Linked DNA regions of Homo sapiens: regions 1, 2, 3, 4, 5 and 7 are each linked to region 6. The links are contacts of gene promoters, found by promoter capture Hi-C in blood cells and fetal thymus (Javierre and others, 2016). All regions are on one chromosome and are shown on one strand. Each heading gives the region's core, a stretch centred on a gene start or on the middle of the fragment in contact. The rest is flanking DNA. Distances are from core to core; before and after follow the strand shown.

The links. Contacts are between HindIII fragments. The CHiCAGO score rates a contact against its expected background, and 5 or more counts as called.
Region 1: a fragment that was not itself captured here is called in contact with the fragment with the promoter of CD1A in region 6 in 5 of 17 cell types (fetal thymus, M0 macrophages, M2 macrophages and 2 more); the score reaches 14.4 in fetal thymus.
Region 2: a fragment that was not itself captured here is called in contact with the fragment with the promoter of CD1A in region 6 in 1 of 17 cell types (activated CD4 T cells); the score reaches 5.3 in activated CD4 T cells.
Region 3: a contact is called between a fragment that was not itself captured here and the fragment with the promoter of CD1A in region 6, in 1 of 17 cell types (fetal thymus). The highest score is 7.1, in fetal thymus.
Region 4: a fragment that was not itself captured here is called in contact with the fragment with the promoter of CD1A in region 6 in 1 of 17 cell types (naive CD4 T cells); the score reaches 6.0 in naive CD4 T cells.
Region 5: a contact is called between a fragment that was not itself captured here and the fragment with the promoter of CD1A in region 6, in 4 of 17 cell types (total CD4 T cells, activated CD4 T cells, M2 macrophages and 1 more). The highest score is 9.7, in total CD4 T cells.
Region 7: a fragment that was not itself captured here is called in contact with the fragment with the promoter of CD1A in region 6 in 2 of 17 cell types (naive CD8 T cells and total CD4 T cells); the score reaches 6.2 in naive CD8 T cells.

What each region holds. Positions count from the first base shown.
Region 1 is chr1:159,003,466-159,006,165 of GRCh38, forward strand. It overlaps a transcript of IFI16 not described here. Among named protein-coding and RNA genes, the nearest start is that of PYDC5, 2.1 kb to the left of the region's middle. RefSeq lists enhancers at 1,922-2,447, 2,448-2,700. The HindIII fragment of the contact is 4,916 bases long and covers 1-2,700 here.
Region 2 is chr1:159,128,219-159,130,918 of GRCh38, forward strand. It overlaps a transcript of AIM2 not described here. Among named protein-coding and RNA genes, the nearest start is that of TRR-TCT4-1, 12 kb to the right of the region's middle. The HindIII fragment of the contact is 785 bases long and covers 1,007-1,791 here.
Region 3 is chr1:159,023,913-159,026,612 of GRCh38, forward strand. The region is part of intron 6 of IFI16 (interferon gamma inducible protein 16); the gene reads left to right. Among named protein-coding and RNA genes, the nearest start is that of IFI16, 15 kb to the left of the region's middle. The HindIII fragment of the contact is 831 bases long and covers 918-1,748 here.
Region 4 is chr1:159,058,927-159,061,626 of GRCh38, forward strand. It overlaps a transcript of AIM2 not described here. Among named protein-coding and RNA genes, the nearest start is that of AIM2, 16 kb to the right of the region's middle. The HindIII fragment of the contact is 1,298 bases long and covers 691-1,988 here.
Region 5 is chr1:159,094,447-159,097,146 of GRCh38, forward strand. It overlaps a transcript of AIM2 not described here. Among named protein-coding and RNA genes, the nearest start is that of AIM2, 19 kb to the left of the region's middle. The HindIII fragment of the contact is 6,509 bases long and covers 1-2,700 here.
Region 6 is chr1:158,253,023-158,255,722 of GRCh38, forward strand. CD1A (CD1a molecule) reads left to right here and starts at 1,402. Exons shown (of 6, transcript NM_001763.3): 1 at 1,402-1,705; 2 at 2,062-2,328. The coding sequence starts at 1,648. The HindIII fragment of the contact is 5,152 bases long and covers 1-2,700 here.
Region 7 is chr1:159,077,205-159,079,904 of GRCh38, forward strand. It overlaps a transcript of AIM2 not described here. Among named protein-coding and RNA genes, the nearest start is that of AIM2, 1.8 kb to the left of the region's middle. RefSeq lists an enhancer at 4-303. The HindIII fragment of the contact is 4,181 bases long and covers 1-2,700 here.

The sequences.
Region 1 (2,700 bases), core at 201-2,700, 750 kb after region 6:
TCTCTGTTACCTAAGCAATCCCTCCTCTGTTTTGCTCTTTTGTGATTCTTAGGCTGGAATCACGTTTTGGCTCTATCAGCCTAAGGAGCAGTTAGCCACCTGTCACTGAGTTAGGGAACAAAAAGACCAAGGCGATAGGTATTTGCACCATAAACTTCTCCTATCTTGTATGTCCATAATTCTGTATTATTATTATTATTATTATTATGTTTTGAGACGGGGTCTCGCTTTGTCGCCCAGGCTGGAGTGCAGTGGCATGAGCTCGGCTCGCTGCAAGCTCCGCCTCCTGGGTTCACACCATTCTCCTGCCTCAGCCTCCCGAGTAGCTGGGACTATAGGCGCCCGCCACCATGCCCAGCTAATTTTTTGTATTTTTAGTAGAGACGGGGTTTCACTGTGTTAGCCAGGATGGTCTCGATCTCCTGACCTTGTGATCCGCCCGCCTCAGCCTCCCAAAGTGCTGGGATTACAGGCGTGAGCCACCGCGCCCAGCCAATTCTGTATTATTTTGCATTTCTGACACTCATGACTTGATACCTTAAACATTCAAACACATAGAAGCACTTATTTGTGTGAACAGCAGTTTCTTTCCTTGAACCAAAGATTGTCAACCCTTAATCTAAAACATAAAAGGAAATAAAATTCAAACACCACTTCTCCATTACTTGTAAATTTTATTTCTCTCTTCTTAATATATTAATACCCAAATTCCAGCCAAAATATTAAGGATGGATGTGGTGGCTTATGCCTGTAATCCCAGCACTTTGGGAGGCTGAGGTAGGTAGATTGTTTGAGCTCTGGAGTTTGAGATCAGCCTGGGCAACATGGCAAGACCTTATCTCCAAAAGAAAAAAAAAAGGTTAAGAAATCTAAATTTCAGTTAATTTTGCCCTTATTGCTAAGTAAATCTGAGTAAATTATAGATGTTAGTAATTTGGGGTAAGAATTCCCAAAACCAGCCGGGCATCGTGACTCACGCCTCTAATCCCAGCACTTTGGGAGGCCGAGGTGGGTGGGTCACTTGAGATCAGGAGTTTGAGACCAGCCTGGCCAGCATGGTGAAACCTTGTCTTTACTGAAAATACAGAAATTAGCCAGGCTTGATGGTGCATGCGTGTAATTCTGGCTACTTAGGAGGCTGAAGCAGGAGAATCACTTGAACCTGGGAGGCAGAGGTTGCAATGAGCCGAGATCGTGCCATCACAACAGAGCAAGACTCCGTCTCAAAAGAAAAAAAATTCCCAAAACCAGATGTTTAGGGTGGAGAGTTCATTACTGACAACAGTAGAGAATCTCATCTTCAATTTTAGAGATAAATTATATCAAGGGAAATTTTGACAGCCAAAGTGAAGTCCTGAAATTAAACAGAGTAAAGAAATTATCAATCTAGTAAAGATCCTCAAAGAATGCTTTCTGGAGAACAGTTTTAGATAAAATAAGCAAATAAAGAATGAAGATAGCAGAGATAAAGCCGGAGAAGTAGAAACTATCAATGTTTTTACCCCCTTCAAAAATAATGTTGAAACTTAGTACCCAATGCAACAGTGTTGGGAGCTTGGGCCAAATGGGAGGTATTTAGATCATGAGAATTTCACTCACGTAAATAGACTGATTAATGCCACTCTAACGGGCATGTAGGGGGTGAATTCGCCCCGTTTGTCATGTGAGGACACAGCAAGAAGGCCTCACCAGATACTGATGCTTGACCTTGGACTTCCACCTCAAGTACTGTGAGAAATACATTTCTGTTCTGTATAAATTACCCAGTCTATAGTATTCCATTACAGCAGCACTAAATGGACTAAGACAGTGGGAAAGTATGCATGTCCATTACAGGGAGGGTCAGAGAACAGGAGTTTTCATGAACCAGAAACTTCTTTCACTCATATTTTCTCCATGAGACATGCAATAAACAGATGAATGATGCCAACTCTGGCCTTGTACAGTATATCATGACTGGTTCACATCACTCCCCAGGTTTCCATATGCATTCACTCTCCTCTCCTGCCTCAACACTGAGTCTCTTTTATTCCACTCCAAAGTAAAGAGGTCATCCCTAGAACTACAGAAGCTCTTTCTGCCAACAGAGTTGTCTGGAGTTTATGGCATTAGCTTTGAGCAACAGGAAAAGTAGAATACAAAACTGCAATACAGAAACTACAAAATTTCAAGGAAGGACTGGCTGAGAGAAGCCTTGAGGTTGGAGGGGAAGGAATGGCATTGTTGTGAAAACGTGTTCTGGGAACTGAGCTTAAATTGAATTGTAGGAGGCTGCAGTCCCACTGGAAAATGCATACTGGCACCAAGATGACTGCTGCTTCCAGGAACATCCTCCCACTCCTTAGCAATGTGGAACAGATTGAAGGAAGCTCAAACAATCCATTTAAGCAGGAAGTAAATAGATTAAGAGAGCAACCAGATGGCCTAAGGCACTATCGGTATAGCTATCCCCACCCCTCAGCGCCCCCATCAGCTTTTCCTTCCTTGTTTCTTCTCACTGTCTGAAAGACTACTCAGGCGTGCACTGCGAGGTGGAGATCTGACTTCTCTTGTTCCCGCTTAAGACTGCCTCCTGTGTAAGTTTCTGCTATCTAGATCTTTGACTACCAACCAGCCAGGAGTGGTCTGCCTCTTCTTTGGTCTGAGCTTGCCTTGTGCTTATATTGTTGTACCCAAGCGAGTTAAGAAAATACCCCACAC
Region 2 (2,700 bases), core at 149-2,648, 880 kb after region 6:
TAATTGCTTTGTTATAAATTGTCATCTTATGTGCCAAGGCTTACACACACACACACACACACACACACACACCACCCCAAGCCCTGCCATTTTTCTGCATGACTCTGGGGTTACACGAGTGGCCTGTCCAGAATCCCGTCCTCTCTTTCCTTTGAGTTTTCTATCTCCATTAAACTTCTATTTGCCTTTACTGCAACCACTAATCCAGATTTTTTTGTGTGTTTAAAGTAATAAATATTCTGTACTTGGAGAATGGCCTAGTATCGTTATAGCGAGTTCACTCAGTTACTCCCACTCTTTTGACTGCTTTTGACCAAGCCAGTAGTCCTCTATCCGACTTCTTCACCTCTATGGCCTTCCATGGAAAGCCACTTGCCAGTATCCTAACCCCCTCTGCCTTTGTCCTTCCTTCCCTCCCACACCCCCTCTTTCCAGGATCTAGATACTTTAACTCTCAGCTTCCTCAGTGTTTGCACCCGGGCTGCTAATCATTGCTAGGGAAAATCACACAACTATAAATTCATGACAATAAACTTCATCTGGTTCTCCACACTGCTCCACAAACTACATTTCCTAGTCAGCTCACTCTTCATATTTTAATAATGATACTTCAAGATTTCTTCACTCCCCTTATATGTTTGATCCCTCTACATTGGGACACATTCTCAGCAAATAACCCACATTGTTACCTCACAGAAATTATCAAGTCCACTTGTCAGAAACTCATCCAATCTCCTAACTGCAGTGGATTGAACAGTGGACCCCAAAAAGACATGCCCAGGTTTTAACATTTAAAACCTATGAATGTGACCTCATTTGTAAAAAGCATCTTGCAGATGTAATTAATGTAAGGATCTTGAGATGAGATCATTGTAGATTTAGGGCGGGCCTGGAATCCAATGGCAGGCATCCTTACAGAGAAATGCAGAGAGAGATCTGAGACACAGAAAAGATGGCCAGGTAAAGACAGAGGCAGAGTTTGGAAGTATGCAGACCCAAGCTAAGAAGCTTGTTCAGAGGAGTGAAAATCTGCTTACATCTTGACCTTGATTTTGGACTTCTGGGTTCCAAAACTTTGACAGAATAAATCTCTGTAATTTCTGAGGCACCCAGTTTGGGGAAATTTGTTATGGCATCTCTAGAAAATTCATGATGCTAACTAAGCTGACAACTGCATTTGTACCTGCTCTATCCACCTTCTCTTCAGTTACAGTACTAAGGGTTGAGTCTACAGCCAGGTTGTGAACCCAACAATAGGACACTGTGGTTAATGGTGCAAGTCTCAAGCTAGATTGACTGGGTATCAATGCTGTCTCCACCACTTACTATGTGATGTTGGTTACTCAGAGTACCATTCTATGCCTCAGTTTCCTTATCTCAAAAAAACAGGATAACAATAAAAAGTACCTCTGTAGGAGAGGCTGTGTAGGAATTAAATGGAATCATGCCCTCAGAACAGTTACTGAATAAGAGGGGAACAACTTTCATTACTACTATTATCATTATCTCTGACTGCCTCCTCAAATACTAAACTATCTATTGATTACTCCTCTCTCTTGTTCCTTCAATGTTTGTCTTTATGAGATAACTTCCATGAGCATTTAAACATTCACTACCATTCCCTGTCAAACAAACCACTCCCTAAACCACACACTTCTCCCTCCAGCTCCCATCCCATCCACTAACTCCATTTCACAACAAATGTTTTAATTGTATACACTCCTTGCTTCTCCTTCCTCACTTCTCACTCACTTGGGAACTCACTAATGTCCACTTCTGTCACTCCACTGAAGCTTCCCTTGACAACCCATGTATTACCAAATCCTAAAGGAAACGTCGGCCCTTATCAGCAACATTTGACACTATGGCTCGTGCACCCTTTTTTAAAAGCATCTGTTCATTGATTCTGGCCCCAGCCCTCCTAGTTTTCTTCCTGCCTATCTGGCCAGTCTCATTTGCTCGCTTCTACCTCCTCTGATGATTCCTTAAATGATGGGTTCCTCAGGGCTTCTTCTTAGCCATTCTTCTTTTCTTATTTTACCTTCTATGAGATATTGACCACTCCCAAGACATCAATTTACTCACAACAGACTGATCATTCCTAACTTGTATTTCTGACCTAGATTTCTCTTCACAGTTCCAGGCTCATATATCTAGCTGCCCATTAGACATATCTACTGGTACATATTTGACACCTCAAATTCAACATGTCTAAAGTGGAAATACTCATCTTCCCTGGCCTTTTTGAGAATCTACTTCCACTACCTATCCCCTTTCTCATTAAAAGGCACTTCCATTCACTCATTTGCTCAAGCCAGAAAGCCGGGAATCATCCTGGGCTCTCCTTTTCCCTTTGCCTCTTACAGCTGATTTCCACTGAGTCTTATTCATTTGATATATTAAATGACCCTCAGTTTTATCCTCTTCTCTCTCTTTCTCTCCACTTCTCTAATACAAGCCAACACCATATCACATATACCCTCAAACTGTCTCCAACCTAGCTTCCCTTCAGTCTTTCTCCAAATTCTTCTGGAATAATCTTTTCAAACTGTATTCCAAACTATAAATCTAAGCCTGGTCACCACACACACACACACACACACACACACACACACACACACACACGCACGCACTCTTCAAATCTGTCATTGGCTGGTATTTTCTCTTAGGATAAAATCCTAACTCCTTAAGAAGGTTTAT
Region 3 (2,700 bases), core at 83-2,582, 770 kb after region 6:
GCGGACCCCCGGGGTATTGAGTTTCAGGAAATAACAGATAGAGAGCTCAGCATGATGGATTATCCTAAACTGTGGGATTTTGCAAGAGAGCCACCATATGTCCATTTCTGGTCAATGAGGAGACCGTCCGAGTGGAAAGGGGATAATCTGGCCCTCTGGGCTACCATGCGTACAAGCGTGATAATAATTTTTATTTAAAGTGCGAAGGGAATATTTAATTCATTCCAGCCAGGCATTTGCATCTTGATATTTTGTCTTAATGGCTAAGGTCTGTCTTAGATGTCTTATTTTTACAATAGACAACCTAGTTTTATTATTAGATGTAGGGGCAACTGGTGTGGGATCTAGAACCGAGGCTACTGAAGAAGGGGAAGATGGGGGAATAATGCGTGTTTTAAAAACACCTAGGGGGTCTTTTTCATTTATGTCAATCCCCATGCCATCTAAGCGACCAAGGGCAGGTCTAGAGTTAGTTAAGGTGGAGGTGGTGATAAAGAGAAGGACAGAGTTACATTGATAAGGGCTGACAGTTAGAAGGGGTAGCCCTTTTGGTGAAATAGATGAAGGGTTTTAGATCTGCACAAACCTTTTTTGTGGAAGTCTAACTTTGCTCTTGAGTAGTTTAAAGGATGTAGTCCCATTTACTACAAGGTTGCCAGGCTGTAGGAGCAGAAAATCGATGCCTTGGCTGCAGGTGCTCACAATGATGAGTGCTACGGGTAATTGTGTCAATTAGAGGGCCGGGACATAAATATTTGTGTGAAAAGGCTAGCTGTCGTTAATCTTTTTTTATTTCCACAAAGTATGAGAAAACAAGCATTAAAGACAATGGTCTAAGGTGAGTTAGACTTAGTTATATTTATAACAAAGGAGCTAATAACAAAAGAAAAAAATATATAAAAGATGTATTAAAATGAAGCTTTCTTTAACTTAGAAGGGCTTAATCTTAGTACAGTAACCCATAATTCTAACGAAGAAGATGTTTTCTTGACTCAAATATGATGGGTCCATTCTTTCTCAGCTGTGCGGACGGCGGTCTCAGTGGTTAATACATAAAATAGGGTCCTTCCCAGGCTCGAGTTTTTTTTTTTAATCTTTTTTCATCTTTTAATAAGAACATGGTTTTCAGGCTGGTGCTGGTGTACTGGAAATTCTAGGGGTGGTACCTGTGCTAAAAGACTTTTAGTTCTGAGGGAAAAGAAAGTGGAAAATAAGCATATAATTTTTGTTGCATATCCTGGGGCTTGAAGCCCCATGGTGACGCCTCCCGCTCCATTCCTGCTCAGCGCCGCCCAAGGGATGCTGTGGCCCTGGCCCCTCTTGAAGTCTTGGCCTTCTTGTGGCCTTCACCACCCCCGCGTGCTATGGCCTTGGGGATGAGGGGCATTGTGACTTACCTGGCCACCCTCGGGACTTAAAAAAAAATAAACACCATTTTATATTTGACTATTTTTTGTATAATTTTATACTAAATAAGTTAAATTTTACCTTTATATTAATGTGCTATTAATGTTAAATTTAATTTTAGTAAAATATTGTAGACATTATTTATCCAATTTTAATGTCTGACCATAAAGTAAAACTTTTATAGACTCATTTTAATTTTTTATATTTGTTTTTTTCTTGATGATTTGCTTGAGTTCCTCATAGATTCTGGATATTAGTCCTTTGTCAGATGCATAGTTTGTGAATATTTTCTCCCACTCTGTGGGTTGTCTGTTTACTGATTATTTCCCTTGCTACGCAGAAGCTTTTTAGCTTAATTAAGTTCCATCTATTCATCTTTGTTTTTGTTGCATTTGCTTTTGGGTTCTTAGTCCTGAAGTCTCTGCCTAAGCCACTCTCTAGAAGGTTTTTCCGATATTATCTTCTAGAATCTTTATGGTTTCTGGTCTTAGATTTAAGTTCTTGATCCATCTTGAGTTGATTTTTGTATAAGGTGAGAGATGAGGATCCAGTTTCATTCTTCTACTTGTAGCTTGCCAATTATCCCAGCACCATTTGTTGAATAGGATGTCCTTTCCCCACTTTGTGTTTTTGTTTGCTTTGTCAAAGATCAGTTGGCTGTAAGTATTTGGGTTTATTTTTGGGTTCTCTATTCTGTTCCATTGGTCTATATGCCTATTTTTATACCCAGAACCATGCTATTTTGGTGACTATGGCCTTATAGTATACTTTGAAGTCAGGTAATATGATGCTTCCTGATTTCTTCCTTTTGTTCTTTTTCCTTAGTTTTGCTTTGGCTATGTGGTCTGTTTTTTGGTTCCATATGAATTTTAGGATTTTTTTTTCTAGTTCTGTGAAGAATGATGTTGGTATTTGGATGGGAATTGCATTGAATTTGTAGATTGCTTTTGGCAGTATGGTCATTTTCTTTATTTCTTTCTTTTTTTTTTTTTTTTGAGACGAAGTCTCGCTCTTGTCCCCCAGGCCTGGAGTGCAATGGCGCGATCTTGGCTCACTGCAACCTCTGTCTCCCGGGTTCAAGCGATTCTCCTGCCTCAGCCTCTCGAGTAGCTGGGATTACAGGTGCTTGCCACCACGCCTGGCTAATTTTTGTATCTTTAGTAGAGATGGGGTTTCACCGTGCTGGCCAGGCTGGTCTCAAACTCCTGACCTCAGGTGATCCACCTGGCTTGGCCTCCCAAAGTGCTAAGATTACAGGTGTGAGCCACTGCGCCCGGCCAATATGGTCATTTT
Region 4 (2,700 bases), core at 90-2,589, 810 kb after region 6:
AGAGGAGGGGCCAGGCTCCTGTCCACTGCAAATGGCGCAAACTTCTGTGGCTCCACCCCAGTGCACACTCTGCCCAGTGTGCGGGCTGGAGTTTCTCTGGGGACCCCTTCCCATCTGGCTGTCTCACTACTGCGAAGGTCCAAAGCTATCTATGCCCAATAAGGAAAAGAGACGTTAAAGTTTACCATTGTGGTCTGCCGTCAAAGAGTGAAATAATAAAAACGTACTGTTTTACACTACCTTTCTGCTTATGTGTCTTTCATTATAGTAGGCTTAGATGCCAATTAGACATTTTTATATTTTTTTGCCCAATGCTATTCTTATACACACACACACACACCAAACACACACACACACATATATATATCTGTGTATGTATATGTGTGTGTATATGTGTTTAAGATTATTTTGCTCATTTTGGGAAACCAGATTCTGAAGAAACTTCAGATGCTACAGAAGCCAGTTTTCTCATCTTTGAGAATACTGAAGTTCAGAGAGATTGAGTGAAGTGGTCAAAATCACAGTATCACTCAGCTAGTTAGGAACAGATGCCATACTAAGATGTCATAGACTGCTAAAACTGCCTCTAAATTCAAATTTGACTTAATGAACTCTAAGAAAAAGGACTGTTTTATACACAGATGATGTTTGTATTCTCAGCTAGTCTAATATTTCATATCACTTGAGGTAAGCTTTCTGTAATTGCCTATTCTTGAGTACCCTGGATGATGGTGATTTGGAGTTAGTGTCATTTAGGTGGGCTGCTACATCCCCACCTTTGCTTGCTTTCCTTAACATCATGCTGATTCCCCTTTGAACTGTACTTCCTAAGGACAATCTATCTTTAAATGAAATAAGAAAAAAATTACCCTCTGCTCAAAAGAATTTGCCTCTTCAATTTTGTTTTCACTTCAATAGCTTCATCCTCTAATGCCTTGATCGCACCGTGTCATATTTTTCCACCTTACCACATATCAGAGCTTCTCCATGGGACTCAAATCAAGCAGATGAGAAGCTGGAGCTTCCCCTAGATCTGTAGTGTGTAGACCAGAGAGGATAGAACAACTCACAGAGATGCTAATCTGTCCTCATAAACATTTTACAGACCAGTTTGTATCAAGTGGTTTTGAGGTATGCAATAGCACCAAAGCCGACATTTTAGGTTAAATACCTATATGTGGAATTACTGGGTCAAATAATATGAACATAATTACTAGTAATGTTGCCAAACTGATGTTTCAACTAACACTTCTGAGGACATTTTCCTTAATCATATCATCATCACATTCACAAATCCTGGACATTATTAACCTAACGGATAAGGAATATTCATTGTTTTAAAGTCCCTGATTTCTGTGAGTCTCTTTAAAGTTTCATCTTTCTTATTTATTATAAAAGCAATGAGTATTTATTCCAGAGAAATAAAAAAAAATCAGAATATCAAAAACATCCATAATTCTATCTTCCAACCTGATGCATGTTTTCCATGTTTATCATGGCATAATCTACAAACAATCATACTTATTTCTGTGAATTTTTACAAATGCATGTAGTCATGAAACTACCACAAAAGTTAAGATAGAGAATAGTTTCATCATAACAAAAATTTCCTTCCTGCTGCTTTGTTGCCGGCCTTCCTCTCAACTCCAAGCTCCTAGAAACCACTGATCTAGTCTTTACTATACTTTTGCCCTTTATGGAATGTCATAAAATGAAATTAAAATGTATGTAGAATTTTGAGTCTGGCTTCTTTCACTTAGAGTAAAGATCTATCCATGTAGATGTGGGTGTCAGTAGTTATTCTTTTTATTGCAGAGTACAATTCAATTATGTGGATCTACCAAAGTTTGTTTATTCATTTTTCAGGTGAGGGATAATCGAGTTTTTTGCACTTTTGCATAATTACAAATAAACTTTCATGAATATTTACATGCAGATTTTTGTGTGAACATACATAATTATTTCAAGTGGATAAAAAACTTACAGCAAGCTTGCTGTGTCATGTGGTAAGCATATGTTTAAATTTATAAGAAATTTCCAAACTCTTTTCTAATGTGACTTTTCATTCCCACCAGCAATAAGTAAGAGTTTCAATTGCTCTGTATCCTTCTCAGACCTTAGCATTGTAGATGCATATTAAGTTTTTAAAAATGGACAAACTCTTTTGCATAAAGGTTATACCATTTGACATTCCCACCAGCAGTGCACAAGAGTTTCAGTTTTTCCAAATCTTTGTCAGCACTTGGTATGGGTAATCTATTTTAATTTAAATTTTAGCTGTTCTAATAAATATATAATGGCATCTCACTGTAGTTTTAGTTTCCATTTCCTTAAAGATGAATTATGTTGAGTGTATTTTTATGTGCTTATTTGACATCCATGTATCATCTTTTTGCCCATTTTAAACATTTAATTGGTTGTTCTGCAATTATTGAATTTTGAGTGTTCTTTATAAATTCTGGATACAGGATCTTTTTGTTTTTTGAGACAGAGTCTTACTCTATCACCCAGGCTGGAGTGCAATGGCGCAATCTCAGCTCACTGCAAACTCCGCCTCCTGGGTTCAAGTGATTCTCCTGCCTCAGCCTCCCGAGTAGCTGGGATTACAGGTGCCCACCACCGTGCCCGGCTATTTTTTTTTTTTTTTTTTTTTTTTTTAGTAGAGATGGGGTTTCACCATGTTGGCCAGGCTGGTCTCAA
Region 5 (2,700 bases), core at 38-2,537, 840 kb after region 6:
AGCACTTTGAGAGGCCGAGGTGGGTGGATCACTTGAGGTCAGGAGTTCGAGACCAGCCTGGCCAACATGGTGAAACTTTGTCTCTACTAAAAATATAAAAACTTAGCTGAGCTTGGTGGCGTGCACCAGTAATCCCTGCTACTCGGGAGGCTGAAGCTGGAGAATCGCTTGAAACTAGGAGGCAAAGGTTGCAGTGAGCCAAGATTGCATTACTGCACTCCAGCCTGGGCGACAGAGCGAGACTCTGTCTCCGAAGAAAAAATGAAAAGAAAACAAATCAAATGTTCTCACTGAATTTTTTTAAGTATTGGTAACTTGACATACCATACAAATTTTTTGCAATGATTTATGAAATTTACATTTTAAAAATCAACTTTCCAAAATTGAGAATGTCATTTTACCTTTTTGCTTTGTATGTCTAATTTATTTGGGGCCAATTATTCTTAGTCTAGGCTGCTTATGCGAAAAAGGTAAAAAAAAACCCTGAATATCAAAAAAATTATTATTTCTTTTATTAAGCCCATTTCTTTTTGTCTCTGTTACAAAAGCGGGCAATTTAAATCATTACTGAAAAAAAATCCAGAAAATGTAGCCAAACAAAAGCAGACAAAGAACAACACTCATAATCCCATCATCCAGAGAGAGAAGCACTACAGGTATTAACTCTTCTGCAGAAATCCCTTCAGATCATTTTCATTGCTATCCGTAAATTAATATAATTATGGAAAGTGTTTATTTTTGTTGTACATGCTTTATCATCAAGCATTATAGTCAGTCTAAATCAAAAGGAAGAAAACATTTAAATCTATCCCTTCTCTCTGTCTCTGTATCCTAAGGGATTTGTGAAATGATTCAGCCATTTCCCCGAGGCAGAAAAAAAAATAAAGCATGATAGAGAATAGTTTTTGTTACAAATGTCAACTCGAATCAATTTGGTAGTGGTTGCATGTACTTGAGCCATGAATTCTCAGTACTGAGGGCTCAGGAAGAGAAAGGTGAAGTAAGAGCATTGAGACCTTGTATCTGCCACCCGGGCCTACAGGGCCTCTGCTTATGTGACAGCTGTTACCTCTGTTTCCCCAGCTACGTGCTCAAGAATGCTCTCTGCTATGTTCTGCACTTTTTTCTGGACCTTCCTCCTTTGCTGAAAGATACCTAGTTTACTCTGTCTGATATAGAAAATGTATGTAAATTAAGAATTTTAAGGTACCACGTTTGTCTTGAAGTGAAAAAAAAATACTCTTAAAATATTATAAAGGATGCTTGGAAATCTGTAGTGGTTAGAAGTATTTAACATTTTAGTCTCTTAATTGGCAATATCATACATTGTATATTATCAAGAGTTCCCTAAGAAGGTAAGACCACTGAAAAGGAGAGCCTCAAAATTTCAATTCAATGCTTTATACTGGTGACTATGGATGTTCATTTTTCATTTCAGGGATATTATAGTGAAAGGAGGGATCAAATTGAGAAGAAATTGCAAAGAGTATGGAATTAGACTAGGGTCTCATATATTAAATCTCAATAAAATTTGAGACATCACATAATAAAGGTCCATTTTCATAAAATCTCATGTTACCACAAGCCAGATTATAAGCTGTCTTGGTAGAGTACATCTGGGCTTTGGGATGACTCCACTACCAGAGACAAGGGTGCTGGTTCCTGATTCAACATAAACACAATGCTACTGTAGGCTGAAAAGATCCTTCTTTAATTAGTTGTCCCAGCCTTCTCCTTTGTGCTTCAAGACAGGCAACTTTGTGTAGTAGAAAAAGCAGACACTTAAAACATTTTTAATGCATCTTCAAATCCTACTTCATTCACTAGCTAGTTGGCCTTGGGAGGGTTACTTAGCCTCTCTCTCTCTGATTCTTGTCTGTAAAATAAAAATATAATGCCTATCTTGCAGTAATGTTGTGAAAAGAAACAGGATAATGTGTGAATCACCTAGCACAATGAATAGCTCATAGTCTGAGCTTAATAAATGTTGGATGTGTCATGTATACCAGGGGAATAATAATATAGTATTTAATAAGTAAATTGCTATTTATTTTCATTTTAAAAATTTTATGGATTTTGGTGCTCTATATATCCACGGGCTCCTTTTCCAGCTTTAAGAGACAATTTAAATTTATTTCTTTGTAAGACTGCCTCTCTAAACTTTTCATAATTTCTGTGGCTTGCCATTTCTTTCCTGAGGTATGATCATAGACAGAATTGCAAAAGGCACTCTCAAGGCAGACACACCATGGCTCAGTAGACTCAGAGCTGGGACCAACCAGAAGAAGAATGCCTGTAACTATTTGTAGGTACCAGCAGGCTGGAGAGCACAGGTATGACATGGGCTGCTTCAAGACTTAGAGGTAACTTTCATTCCCTGAGGGTGAAGGATGATGGGGGGAATGGGGGGTATACAGAGACTAAACTGGCCTTTAGCGACAAAAACAAACAAAAAGTATTCCCTTCATCCTTCGATATTGTCACCTGCTTGTGATCTAGGTGATTTCCTACTCATTAGGTTGCTCTGAGATTTAGGCAGCTCCAAGGCACAGAAAATCTGGGATTGTAAAAAAGAAAATAAAGTCGGGAAGTAGGCAGATCCCTACCTCTCTTTCACCCCTACAAGGGCATGAATTCTTGAGCTGCAGGAGACAGAAAAGTCTGAATTCTGCCCCAGTCTCAGGCAAACCGCTAAGTCTT
Region 6 (2,700 bases), core at 152-2,651:
GGAGTTGGAGGTTACAGTGAGCTATGATTATTCCACTGCACTCCAGCCTGAGTAACAGAGTGAAACCCTGTCTCAAGAAAAAAAATTTTTTCCCCCTAAATTAGCTTCAGATACTTTTTTTTTGAAAACCAAAAAATAGTAAATAGCCCAGACACATTTATATGGATGATATCTACAAAGCACAAACATATATTTAGAAGCCCTTCAACAGTTACAAGCAGCGTAAAAGAGGAATGTAAATGTGTCCGGCAAAGACTCATTTATAACAAAACAACCCTGAAACATCCAAATAGGACTAATAAAAAGGGATCCTGGGATAAAGACTTTGGAATACTCCATTAACTTCACTGCTCACAAGTTCTGACTAGTTTCTTATAAGTAATAGGACATTTATAGCAGGATCTTTTATGTAAATCTCATGCCAGTAACTTGTACTTTTATCCTAAATAAAACTGTATGAGATTCTCATCTCACTACATAGGGTTACAAGTAACTTTTATGATATCTTTAAAAAGTTTCATGTTGAATATCACCTCCATAATTAAAAAATGGATGCATAGACTGAATTCATTCATTCATTTGACAAATATTCACTAAGCACCTACCACTTGTGAGATACTCTGTTAGGTGGGGATACAGTATGATAACTGTATGGAACTAACACTCCAAGTCAAACATTGAAGTCAAAATTCTGGGCTGGCGTACATTAGTTAGGAGCCCCCATTTTAGAAAATATTATTTCAAGCAGGCCTTGTTTTTATCCAGAGAGTGTATACAGTATAATAAAACTCAGTACACCAAGATTTATATTTCATGGCGTGTTTTTCTCCCTAAGTAGAGAAAAAGCTCCTTCAGTAAAGTGATTGTGTTGTCAACCACTGCATATTCTTAAGTGTACCAAGATGCTTGACTCCAGGCAGGTGCTAAGAGAGACTGTTGGGTGAGTGAATGTATATCAATGAAAATCAAACAGAGGAAATTTTCTTTATATGTTTTAGTGTTCCTGTGGTTTTTTTTTTTTTTTTTTTTTTTTTTTTTTTTTTTTTTTTTGTGATGGTTACTGGCTCTTCTCTAAGAATAATGGAGAAAAGGTGTTAGTTTGTACTGTCGCACAGGGCAGTCGTAGGAGACTCTGAAAAAGCAAATAAATCAATGTTAAATCAGAAATGTGAATGTAGTAAGGGGCTGAAGAGACAGGGGAAGAGAATACATGGGAAAATATTGAAAAGGACAGAGTGATCAAAAAGAGCAGGGACATGGGAGCATTGGGCAGCACACTGGGAGCCATTTCACTTTATGCTCTTATTGTATGATTGAGAAAAAAATGTCCTTAGTGGTTAAGTGGCTTTTCAATGCCACATCAGACTTGTTCCATAGCAGTTGAATTAGGGGAAGGTGAATAAGTTGGAGGTTGGTGACAAGGAGAGAAGCTGGAACAGAGAGGAGAGTCAGAACCAGAGGGAAATGAGAGACTGAGTAGGCATCTCAGGGTTTTTGAAGGAGTGGATTTTCTTTGTTGCAGTCAGGGGAGGTTTGTCTGTTGGCTGCAGAAAGAAGTCAGAATAGAGATATCGTGGGGTAGGTTTGTTTGGAACAGAAATCAAAGACCAATTTTTCTGAGAGAAGGAAATAACATCTGCAAATGATATGCTGTTTTTGCTACTTCCATTGTTAGCTGTTCTCCCAGGTGATGGCAATGCAGACGGTAAGAACTCTGACAACTGCCCAGTTGGGTGGTGGGTGAAGGTCTCTCTCTCTCTCTCTGTGTGTGTGTGTGTGTGTGTGTGTGTGTGTGTGTGTGTGTGTGTGTGGTTTCCCTAGCATATACCTGGAAAGTGAGAGTGCCAGGCTGGTTCCATTCTGACTATCCATGACTCCAGGTCCCTGAGCTCTTATGAAGGTGGTTGATAAGGCATGGGACTGTGTGGCAAGTGAATGTCTGCTAAGATCATGATGGATCCCCTTTTCTCCAGATTCTGAGTTCCCGCACTCTGGCACCTTTCTCTCTCCATCCTCTTTCTCAATGTCTTTCTCCCCATTCTATCTGTTCTTTTGTCGCAGGGCTCAAGGAGCCTCTCTCCTTCCATGTCACCTGGATCGCATCCTTTTACAACCATTCCTGGAAACAAAATCTGGTCTCAGGTTGGCTGAGTGATTTGCAGACTCATACCTGGGACAGCAATTCCAGCACCATCGTTTTCCTGTGCCCCTGGTCCAGGGGAAACTTCAGCAATGAGGAGTGGAAGGAACTGGAAACATTATTCCGTATACGCACCATTCGGTCATTTGAGGGAATTCGTAGATACGCCCATGAATTGCAGTTTGAATGTGAGTTCAGTTTTCTCCATGGAGAGTGGTGAGGTGGGAGAGAGGGGTTGTCTCAATGTTTCTTATTCCTTTAGGAAACAGCCTGACTCTCTTCTGTATCTTATTCTATTCTTTCCACCATAAAACTGCAATTGCATACTTTTGGGCAAGGGCTATCATCCAGACCTTAATTCTCCAAACACTTCTGCTACTTATGAACTCCTCTCTCATTGATTGCAGGGTTGTGCATTATTATCTTTTCTTACAGGTATCCCAGGACCACCCTTCTGCCTGCCCTACAACCAGATACCTTCAGCTTTCTCACTTTCTCATTCATTCTCTTCAGCAGTCTCTCTATATATACTCAATTGTAACCCATTGCATTTAATTCAA
Region 7 (2,700 bases), core at 58-2,557, 820 kb after region 6:
CAGGCACTCAAAGATTTGAGTCACAGGCAATGTGGTTCACGTACTATATGAATAAGCACAATGAAGGTATGGAGTACTCTGTAATCAAGGGGAGGGGTTTTCTGGGAAATGGGCGGGCAATTCCCGGAATCGGGGTGCCACCCTTTTCTTGACTAAAGATGGTTAATCCGGAACTGTCATGGCGTCAGGTGCATGATGGGAGTGGGAATTTCCCCATGGAAGTTTTATGATATTAAGGGCATAATGAAGCTAAGGGTCAGCAGTCAGCCAAGTTTTCGACCATCTTGGCTTTAACCAGTTGCGGCCAGTTTCTTCTGTGTTACATTCTCATCTGTGCCTAAGTAGGAAGTTTGCAATCTGTCTTCATTGTCACAGGCTGTTGTAACAGTTCCTATCTACTAGTGGGGCAATCCCTCTGCTAACCTTTTTGACCGCATTTTTATTGCTTGTAGCCACCTGCAAGTAATCATGCCTCATTCCCTCACTGACTGCTTGCCTCAAAAGCATATATACAGTCTTTCTTCCTAACCCAGGCTCCTAACCCTAAATTCAGAGCTTGAGGGCTTGATTCTAGTCAGCAATTTACTTGAGGTTTTCCTTTCTTATTCATTGAATTAACAATTATGCACTGAACATCTAATATGATGTATTAGATTCTGAGAATATAAAAGTTAGTAAGACAAAGTTCCAGATGTTGAGCGGCTCTGCCAAGTCATGAAAACAGACATGTGATTTAATAATCACAATAGGACATGATGATAAGTGTTATAATTAAAGCATGCTCAAGATGCTCAAGGAGCAGAGGAAGAGCACCTAACCATGCCCAGGTAATCAGCCCAGAGCTGCAGGACCTCCTTCACTTTCTACTGCAAGGCTTGTTTCTACACTTTTGCCAGCTTTCAGCTCAAATAGCACCTTATCTGTGGGGCTTCTCTGACCAGCATGTTCTCTACCTCTTCCCCACATTATCTTTTCCCACACGTGTTACTGACCATCATCTGACATACGGTATATGTCATTTGTTTGTTTATTCTCTGCCTCATGCTCCTAAAATGTAAGGCACATGAGGGAAGAGATTTCTGCCCACTGGCTCACTGCATCCACTTCACCTGACACAGTGCCAGGCACAGAGAAGGTGTTCAGAAAATATTCGTTGAATGAGTGAATGCATGAATGAGTGGATCACACAAGGCGAAAGAACACCAAAGAGAACAATATGTAAGAATTAAAAAGATGTGAAGTGTATGAATTTGGTAACCTACTGAGTAAACGAGAGAAAGCTCCCTGTTGAGGAAGAACCCAACAAGCACCAACCCCAGAGAGGCGTACTGATTTGAGGCTTCAGGTCCTGTAAAAGGTGAGTTAAGTGATTAAGCTGGGAAGTGGTCTCAATGAGGAGCAGGTACACTGCTGCACCTGGGGCAGAGAGACAAGTACTCATCGTCCAGCTTTGTTTTACCAAGAAATTTAATCAGAGAGATACCCAACTTGGTGACACAAGACACAGAAGGGAAAGGAGGCAACTGTGCTGAAAAAGGAGGTTTGTTAACAGTCTCACGGAGAAAAGTGGGATCCCCAAGCCCTTTCCTCCCTGACTTCTAGAGTACTGACAGCAAGGTTTATGCCATAAGCAGAAGACTGGAGGCTCCTACTGTAGCAACTGGCCCAAGAAGGGAAAAACTCTCACCGTTACTGACATTTTGAGTTTTCCAATACAAAGACTCAGGCCCTTTCGTGCCAATCCTATAATTAAACTAACTCATAAATAAACCAGGCCAACGCAAAAAGAATTCAAGTCAGTTTTGTGTGTATACATGTATGGACATTTCTTTCTTAAATATGAGTAAACAGACATAAATAACATTCAGAAAAGCCTCCAACTTAAAAAAAAAACAGAAAACAAATCAGAAGAAGGAACTTAAGGACAAAGCAGAGGGTAGAAGAAGAAATATATATGGTCATCAGAGAGATAAGAAAAGACATTGCATCCATGAAACAAAAAGACAGTGCTAATACTTGTAAAAAATGAACAAATTACAGAAGAGATTTTATAAATATATTTTCTAAATGTGATAGCAGAAAAGTTTTAAAGCTAATAGAGTGATAAAGCTGAAGATCTCTTTCTAAAAGTATGCCTAGAAAAGAATAAAATGGAAAAACAGGAGAGAAAAAAAATAAGAAATATACAGGTTTATGCCCCGATGAATAATAACCAGCTAATAAGCATTTAAACAAGAGCGAATGGAGAAAAAAGCAAGTTATCAAATAAATACCGAATTTGATGAATGAGAAAGAACACACACAAAAGCATGTCACTTTGCATTTTTTTTCCAGTTTTTTTCTTTTTAGTAGACTTTATTTTTTAAAGCAGTTTTAGGCTCACAGTAAAATTGAGCTGAAGGTACAGGTTTCCATATACCCTTTTCCCTCACACATGCACAGCCTCCCCATTATCAACATTCCCACCAGGGTGGACTGAGCATGACACATCATTATCACCCAGACTCCAGAGTTGCCACTAGGGTACACTTGGTGTTGTACATTCTGTGGGTTTGGACAAATGTATAATGAGTATCCACCCTCACAGTATCATACAGGGTGGTTTCCCTGCCCTAAAATCCTCTGTGCTCTGTCTAGTCATCTCTCTCCCGACAAATCCTGGCAACCACTGATCTTTTTACTGTCTCTATAGTTTTGCTG